2 separate regions of the Homo sapiens genome follow, and region 1 is linked to region 2. The links are contacts of gene promoters, found by promoter capture Hi-C in blood cells and fetal thymus (Javierre and others, 2016). All regions are on one chromosome and are shown on one strand. Each heading gives the region's core, a stretch centred on a gene start or on the middle of the fragment in contact. The rest is flanking DNA. Distances are from core to core; before and after follow the strand shown.

What was found. Contacts are between HindIII fragments. The CHiCAGO score rates a contact against its expected background, and 5 or more counts as called.
Region 1: a fragment that was not itself captured here is called in contact with the fragment with the promoter of AGPAT5 in region 2 in 17 of 17 cell types (total B cells, naive B cells, erythroblasts and 14 more); the score reaches 35.2 in total B cells.

The regions. Positions count from the first base shown.
Region 1 is chr8:6,432,388-6,436,738 of GRCh38, forward strand. It overlaps MCPH1 (microcephalin 1), which reads left to right. Exons shown (of 14, transcript NM_024596.5): 5 at 3,661-3,775. Among named protein-coding and RNA genes, the nearest start is that of MCPH1, 28 kb to the left of the region's middle. The HindIII fragment of the contact is 9,018 bases long and covers 1-4,351 here.
Region 2 is chr8:6,706,276-6,710,764 of GRCh38, forward strand. It overlaps AGPAT5 (1-acylglycerol-3-phosphate O-acyltransferase 5), which reads left to right and starts at 2,367. Exons shown (of 8, transcript NM_018361.5): 1 at 2,367-2,612. The coding sequence starts at 2,394. It overlaps MCPH1-AS1 (MCPH1 antisense RNA 1), which reads right to left and starts at 1,934. Exons shown (of 5, transcript NR_125386.1): 1 at 1,866-1,934. RefSeq lists silencers at 2,121-2,460, 2,521-2,760. The HindIII fragment of the contact is 5,238 bases long and covers 1-4,489 here.

The DNA.
Region 1 (4,351 bases), core at 1,010-3,509, 270 kb before region 2:
TATTTCCAATCGCGACTGGTTGAATCCATAGATCTGGAACTTGCAGATACAGAGGGCAAACTGTAGAGTTAAAGACATTGCTTTCATTTGAGATAGAATTCACATTTTAACCACAACCTTTTCGGCTTTCTATTTATGTAAAAGTTCTAATTGTGATTTCTTTATCTGAGGGTACTTTACTCTGAAACATCACAGCCAGCTTGTTTTCACATGAGATTCTCTGTTAGAGGGAGGATTTGATGACTTTCTCCAAACTGAACTACATTTCCTGTAGACTAGAGGAGAAATAACTGTGAATTTCACATTTCCTGAAAATAGTAAATGATATTTCTTCGTTACATTTCATCTCAGACAAGCCATAGTTTGCCCATGCAGTGATAGATGAACTTCTTCAGTCTTACCTGATTATAGGTGAACAAGTGTTCAGCAGTCTCTGGACTCCCTGTGACATGCTAAAATCAAGTGTTTATTGTAAAAACACATCAGTAGTACATACATATTTTCTTTGTAAAACATTTAGTAAACACAGACATCTCTTTGATTGCCCTCCCTCAATGTAAGCAGCTTTCAATTTGATGAGTATCCTAGGTGGCATTTCTTCAGTACATTACACACATGTACACACTCACACATGCATGCTTGACGTGAAGGGGCTCTGCTATCTTATGTGTATCATTTGGTGAGTTGCCTTCTCTTCCCCAATTAACAATATGGTTTTGACCATTTCATGTCGGTAGCTTTGACTCTACTCAGTTTTCTGTATTGCATTATACATTGTGACTGTTTTTCCGGTATTCATGTACTTTTAGTCACTGTCAGTTTTTGCTAAGTATATTACTTAAGCCACATATTTGAGTTTATTTCTCCAAGTCAGATATCTAGAGATAAAATTACTGGGTAAGAATACATACACATTTTGATTTTACCAGCTCCACCAATCATATACAAGATGACCTATTTCTTGGCCAGATACAGTGGCTCACACCTGTAATCCCAGCACTTCAGAAGGCCAAGGCGGGCAAATCAGTTGAGGCCAGGAGTTTGAGAGCAGCCTGGCCAACATGGCGAAACCCCATCTCTACTAAAAATACAAAAATTAGCCCAACCTGGTGGTGCACACCTGTAATCCCAGCTACTCAGGAGGCTGAGGCAGGAGAATTGCTTGAACCCAGGAGGTGGAGGTTGCAGTGAGCCCAGATCATGCCACTGCACTCCAGCCTGGGCGACAGCAAGGCTCTGTCTCAAAAAAAAAAAAAAAAAAAAAAAAACCTATTTCGTGATACTCTGACCAATATTGGATGTTACTAATCTTTTTAATTTTTCCTAATCTGAAGCATTAATGATTGCTTGTACACTTTACCACTTTAATTTTCATGTCTAAAAACCTTCCCTTTCCTTCTCTTTTCCAAATGTAATTGCAAATTAAACCCGACTCAAGGCCTTATTCTTTTGGGTCCTTGAGATGGTTCTGTGCCTCTGTCTCCCCCCTCACCCTGTCTGCTGCCTGCCTGCCCAGCTTGCTGTTCCTCAAGCATGCCAATCGTATTTCTATTTCAGAGCCATTGCGTTATCTGTTCCCTCTGTCTGGAACATTCTTCCCCCAAAATCCTTACACATGACCCGTTTTCCAGCCTCCCTATGGCTTTGTGCAGATGTTACTTTCTCTGTGAGACCTATCCTGCCACCCGTTTATACCAGCAGTTCCTTCCCACTTGTGCCAACTATGCAAGTCTCTTTTCATCTGCAGTGCTGACTGGCTCCTCCTAACACACTGTAGTAATGTGGGCAGTTTGATGGAATACAGTTGCTAGAGAAGATTCACAGGACCCCAAAATAACAATGTGTCCAACCTGCACCGTACCTGAGAACCAGGAAGCGCAAGATGGAGTGTCTTCTTGTATACTGCTGACCCTGAGTCTATATGAACCAGCCCCACTGGCAGAGCCTCCAGGCAAATCCTTCATCTCACTACTCATAAACAATGTTGACAGGCCAGCACAATCTGTCCCCAAACTTCCCGGACCTGTGGCTATAAAGCACCACTGTCTAATTAGTACATTTTGTGTCATGCAGGTACTTTAGTGAAAGCAGTGCAGGCCGGTTCCAAGCCTGTTGAAATGAACCTCCCAAGACACATACAATTTACTTATTTATTATGTTTATTTGCTGTCATTCCTTACCAGCATACAAGCTCCATGATGACAAGGATCTTTCTAGGTTGCAAGACCAGCGCCTGACATAAAGTCATGTTTTTTGTCAATAAATGAGTGAATAACTAACAGAGCAAGATCCCCAGTATAGGCATTAGCCTTGAGTAGCTAAAAGAAGTTCTTTCTATGAGACTGGAGCAAAAGAAGTTAGCGTTTACGTGGGTAGCTAGCTACCCATGTAAGCAAATTTGGGCTGGTAGCTTCGCGCTGAAAACGAAGGAACCTAGACAGATGACTTAAATTTCCCTGGGGTCCTATAAGAAAGAAGTCAGGCATAAAAGTGTTATAGGTAAAATCGATGTGAAGTTCAGTATGTGTATTTGTGCTGATGGCTGGGCTAAAGACGGGAAGTCAATGGGCAGTTCCAAGAACAGAAAGTGGGGTGGGTAAGGCTGGGAACGTGAGGTGTGTTTCAAAGGAAACATTTCCCCTGTCTGAGGATGGTTAAGAGTAGAGTTAACCCAAGACCTTCCTGTGGATATCAGCCTGGGGTTTCATGTGTTTGTGAGTGTAGTTACAGTTTTTGGGTTTTACTGGCTGATTGGAGTTACTGTGATTTAATGACGGTAGGGCAAGCATAATCATGGTTCTTTTCTTTGGTAATTATAAAATAGAAATTGTTTTATTACTGTGTTGTGGTCTTGCAGGGAGGATGACGTGAGAATAGTGCTACCAAGCAGGCAGTGGGCGTGCTGCCAACCCACATAGAGTCCAAGATCATGCCACTTGTTTTGAGAAAAGAAAGGCTTTATTGCAAGTTGCCTGGCAAGGAGACAGGAGGAAACTCTCAAATCCGCCTCCCTGAGGTGGGGGCTCAGGCAGTTTCATAGGCAGAGAAAACAAAGTGTGATCTGATTGGATCTTGCAATGGGGTGATGCTGGGAGGTGTCATCTGACTGGGTTGTGTCACAAGGTGATGCCAGGGCTCAATCTGATTGGATCATGGATTATGCCATCAGGTGTTTACTCCTTAATTTGGCCCCCGTTCCTTGGTCTAAGTGCTTAGGTTCTGCCCGTGGTTACATGCTTGGTTCACCTGGGCATGCTCAAGTGACGTAACTTGCAACTTCAGGGGCCGTGGCAATTAAACAGTTCACCATTTTGATACACAAAGTTGAACTAGATTGGGCTGGTTTGGTGGTAAGAACAGCAAAAAATCGAAAGAGACTGGCTAAAAACTTTCATGGAAACTAAGAATGCTAGGATCATGAAAATGTCTCACAAAGCATAATACAGAGCCTTTTATACAGTCTTTTAAATTCTGTCCATTTTCTTTATAACTGCACAAAAAAATAAATATTGCCAGTTCACATACAGTGCAAGAAACACCTCTTTTAGAATTTTTTATTACTGATGTTATAAAAGGTATCAGAAATGTATGCGAAAGGGCTTTTTCTCCTGCCTTAAGCAGTTGCAGTACAGCATTAATTTTTGTGTTCTTTTTGCACAGCGTAAATGTATGCAGCCCAAAGATTTTAATTTTAAAACACCAGAAAATGATAAGAGATTTCAGAAGAAATTTGAGAAAATGGCTAAAGAGCTACAAAGGCAAAAAACAAATCTAGGTAAGCTAAGAAATATAATACAGTTCTTTGCATTTGTGTCCATACACCTTGTTTAATTTGCATGATGACTAGTGGGGTTCAGCATGAGAGAGCTGATGAAGACTATGATAGCTTTACTCTATGAAGGAGAAAACAAAATGTCAGGAGCCTGCGGGAGACTTGGCTGGGAGCCATAATAGAGCCACGCAGCTTGAGCTAATCGACCACAGTCTTAACCATTCATCAAGGTGGTCGAACTTTTTATTTTCGGGAATGATTTCAGAAGAAAAGCAAACTTTGGCTAATAAGCATTATTGAAATAAATACCTATTTATTTCTTCTTTATATATAACTTTGTATTTTTACCTAATTGGCATTTTTGTTTTGTTACCCTGAATAGGCAAATCTTAGATGATACATTATTTTAGTGATTTGGGAAAATACTTTAGAATATTATGTTCTATAACAAGATGTCTTAGAAAAAAATATATGTATTCTTATGTATATATATTGTTAAATAATATTTTTATATATAAGAATATTATGGGCTGGGCACAGTGGCTCACGCCTGTAATCCCAGCACTTTGGGAGGCAGAG
Region 2 (4,489 bases), core at 1,117-3,616:
TGAAATACCATTTCACTGAGAAGTCTTCCTTGTCTCCAGACTAAATTAGATTGCCTTGATATATGCTCCCAGAGAACCAAGAATGTCCCCTTTTCATCCCACAGGTAACTCCTTGTTAAATGTTGTACAAGGAAGGCATAGACAGAATTCACCTTTCACTGTTCCACTGGTGCCCAGCAGGGTATGCAAAGGAGGAAATCAGCTGTGCTCTGAAAGAAGCACCATTCCAGTAAAGGGGAGGAAAAGGTCATCAGACTGCAAGGGCTCAACAAAAGTACAAGGTAAGGAGGCAGAGGGTGTGGGCTGATTATCAACTAAGAGGTTTGCACGGAAAAAGGGAAAAAAAAAAAAACAGAAAAACAGGGCCGGGTAGTGGCAGAAAGAGAGGGTGGATCTGTGACTGTTCGCAGGAAGAGAGGAGCGGGAGCAGGACAGACAATAACTGATAGTCAGGAGCTGGGTTTGGAGATAAAGAGGGAACAAGAGAAAGTTAAGTTCTGTGTTTTCATGGCAAACATTGCACAAAAGTTTACAACTTCGTGACTAACAGTAATCTGGGGTGATTCACAACAAATTTACACATAAACACATATTTACTGACTTTATACACAGCAATCCTAACGTGAACACAGAACCTGCTTTATCTTTTCGCACACTGTTCTAGTGTAGAGATGTCTGGTCTCAGTTAAAGAAAGCATAAGGAGCATTAGTTGTGCACACTGTCCACACCTGTGACTTTTTTCCACCAGTACTAAACCTAGTGCTTCTTACAGTACAGGACAATGACAGCCACAGAAAGAGAGAAGCTCCTTTTACTGTGTAATGCTTCCTGCTGGCCTTCAAATACTTGTTACTTGAGAGATCTCCATTCACCTGGCTTTGTCCCCAAAGGTCATCATCTACCAATGATGTTGTTATTTGATGTTAATCATGTATAAAGAAAGTAGCTACCATCCTGGCCCTGATTAGAACTTCCCACTGAAATACCGTCCTGCCTAAAGGTAGCACAGGCTCCCATTATGGTGGTGGTGGGGAGGGGGCGGGAATATATATATATATATATATATATATATATATATATATATGGTAAAGCATTCGGCATTCTTTTAAAGTACAACTATCCTTGAAAAGGGTTACATATTAAACCATTTTTACCACAGCCAAAGGGGAGGAGAAAGATCCAAAAGTCCTGTGGATCTGCTTTAACATCAATAAAACAGTTATCCACCCTTCGTAGCTTTTAGTGAAGGCTACAAAAGTATGCTTTTTATGGATTACACATGTGCACGCAACTACTTTAATTACTACAGAAAAAAACGAGGCTCCTTATTAAAAAAAAATCAGAAACAAGTCCAACAGACTCTGAGGAAATGAAGCAAGAGTGAATTCTGAAAAGGTCTAATAAACAGTATGGAAATATCCTTGTGGGATTGTTCTTCAGCTATGCATAAACATGTAATTATCATCATTACTGTGATGGGGAAAAACACGGACCCTAATTCTGAAACACCCTGGTAGCGAGAGACGGGCAGGAGGGGCTGCTGCGCACTCAGAGCGGAGGCTGAGGAGGCGGCGTCCCCTTGCAAAGGACTGGCAGTGAGCAGATGGGGACACTCGAGCTGCCCCGCGACCTGGGCCGAGCTGCCTACAACCTGGGCCCAGGTGCCTGCAAGAATTAGACCTCCGATAACGTTAACACCCACTTTCTCACTGCTCTAATTGTGTGCATCCCGGCGCCCAGGGGCTTGTGAGCAGCAGGTGCGCGTTCCAGGCAGCTCCAGCGACCCTTAAACCTGACCGCGCGCACGTCCGGCCCGAGGGAGCAGAACAAGAGGCACCCGGACCCTCCTCCGGCCAGCACCCACCTTCACCCAGTTCCGTCAGTCGCCACCACCTCCCTTCCCGCGTCCGCAGCCGGCCCAGCTGGGGAGCATGCGCAGTGGCCGGAGCCGGGTTGCCCGCGCCCCAGCAGGTAGCTGTACTGCAACTGTCGGCCCAAACCAACCAATCAAGAGACGTGTTATTGCCGCCGAGGTGGAACTATGGCAACGGGCGACCAATCAGAAGGCGCGTTGTTGCCGCGGAGCCCCCTGCCCCGGCAGGGGGATGTGGCGATGGGTGAGGGTCATGGGGTGTGAGCATCCCTGAGCCATCGATCCGGGAGGGCCGCGGGTTCCCTTGCTTTGCCGCCGGGAGCGGCGCACGCAGCCCCGCACTCGCCTACCCGGCCCCGGGCGGCGGCGCGGCCCATGCGGCTGGGGGCGGAGGCTGGGAGCGGGTGGCGGGCGCGGCGGCCCGGGCCCGGGCGGTGATTGGCCGCCTGCTGGCCGCGACTGAGGCCCGGGAGGCGGGCGGGGAGCGCAGGCGGAGCTCGCTGCCGCCGAGCTGAGAAGATGCTGCTGTCCCTGGTGCTCCACACGTACTCCATGCGCTACCTGCTGCCCAGCGTCGTGCTCCTGGGCACGGCGCCCACCTACGTGTTGGCCTGGGGGGTCTGGCGGCTGCTCTCCGCCTTCCTGCCCGCCCGCTTCTACCAAGCGCTGGACGACCGGCTCTACTGCGTCTACCAGAGCATGGTGCTCTTCTTCTTCGAGAATTACACCGGGGTCCAGGTGAGCCGCCTCCCGCTCCCGGGTCTCGGCGTCCACCCGAGCTCCCGGGGGCGCGGACCTCTCCGCTCCCCCACAGCTGGCGAGGGTCACCCGGCCGGCCCGGCGGACCCAGCACGGAGAGCACGTGCCGCCTCCCCGCCTTCCTCTCCGCATGCTTCCTGCCGTTCTGCCGAGATCGCTCTCTAGGAAGCTGTGGCTGCGTCGTCCTGAGGCTACGAGTGGGACCCGCCGCCCCTTTCCCCGCCCCTCGCCTGGGTCTGATGCTGCTTAGCAAAGTGGGTGCAGATGCACGTTTTAAATAATAGGGCACGCGTTTAGCAGTTTCTGGCCTTTGGTCCAAAGAGGTGGTCATGTTGGAACAGATCGGAGACGTCTACACTCCGAAGTGCGCTTTTACAGTGACCTCTTGAAACAGAAGTACAATTCGGTCTTGTGTTCTTTCCCCTGGACAAGTGAAAGCTGGGCGAAGAAATGAATACATTTGTTAACCGTAGAAGCCTAACTAGATACATTTCTTGCCAACTTTAACTGGGCTTGAATGTGTGGGTGATCTGTTGTCTGATTACTTTCTTTCTGTTACTGTTTCTCTGTAGAGATTGGATTCGTAGATTAAACTTGAGAAACAAACCATAAAAGTGGAAGGCCCTCTTTAACAGTAGGTATTTGAAGTGTTATAAAAAAAAAAAAAAGGTGAATTTTTCTTTTATTTCTCAGTTTGAAAGAACAGCTTTATTCTTGGTTATTCCTAATGTCCACCTAGTCCTCTTTTACTTTTCTTGGTAGGGTTAGGGTGGCATGGGGAAATGGGACGGTATCATTTTGTCTTTTTAACTTTTTTTTTTTCCACCTACAGCAGCTGTTTTTACCCTGTGGTCAGTCAGGTACTATATTTAGTTTGCAGTTGCACTGCTGATCGACCCTTGATGGCCCCAGTTGGAAGTTGTTTGGGGGGAAGGAACTAGGAGAGGCCAGGGCCTCCATTTAAACCAGTGTCTGTAAGTGTCTCCTTGGAAAGAAAAAAAGATACTGTTCCAGGTCATGGTTTCCTGGTAGTTGACGTTTAAAATGGGCCTCATTTAAAAATTTCAATAATTCAGGCTAATTTTTTCCCTTTATATGGTAACTCCACCAAGTTTGTCTAAATGTATGATTTTTATCATGATTAAGTTTTTACTTCCACATCATGTGACAACTGGCCTGGGATGGGATATAAGCTCAGAACACAAAGTCATTCACCTCTTAAAAAAATAATTCTATCTGTGGCGGGTTATGTTATTTTTGTTCAAAGAGGACACAATATGATGCAGAATACACCATTGAAGGATTTTTTGGTTTGGCAAGTTCTTATTTTTTTAAATGGCTGTAAAACCTAGCAGTGTTTCTGAAATTGCATACCTTACCTGATGTTCAGAGATCCGATTTACTTCTTGATTTCCCAGCAAGTGATTTTGAAAACATTTAATCTAATCATTCCCCCCACCGTCTGTTCAAATCAAAGGAAGTGGCATCCAGCACTAATTTTCATGCATTTATGAAAGGATGCCTGAGGACCCTTAAGTATAATTCAAAATTTTGTTTAATGTGTGTTCCTTGATGAAGTTCTTTAGGAGTCGTAGAACGAACTGATTGCCCACTGATCATCAAATGCAAGTTATGAACATTTAATAAAAATTTAAAACCAAGAGTTTCTTGTTCCTGCATTTTTATTTTTATTGTATGGAGGGGACAAATAATTATTTTCTGTTTAGTAACAGAGCAGGGTATTTTGAATTTATTAGGGTCTTTTTCTGCAATCTGGGTTTCCTGTGTACACAAAGCTACCTTTCAATATTTTTTATTGTTTCTGTTAAGATTAAATCAATAGAGGAATAAATAGC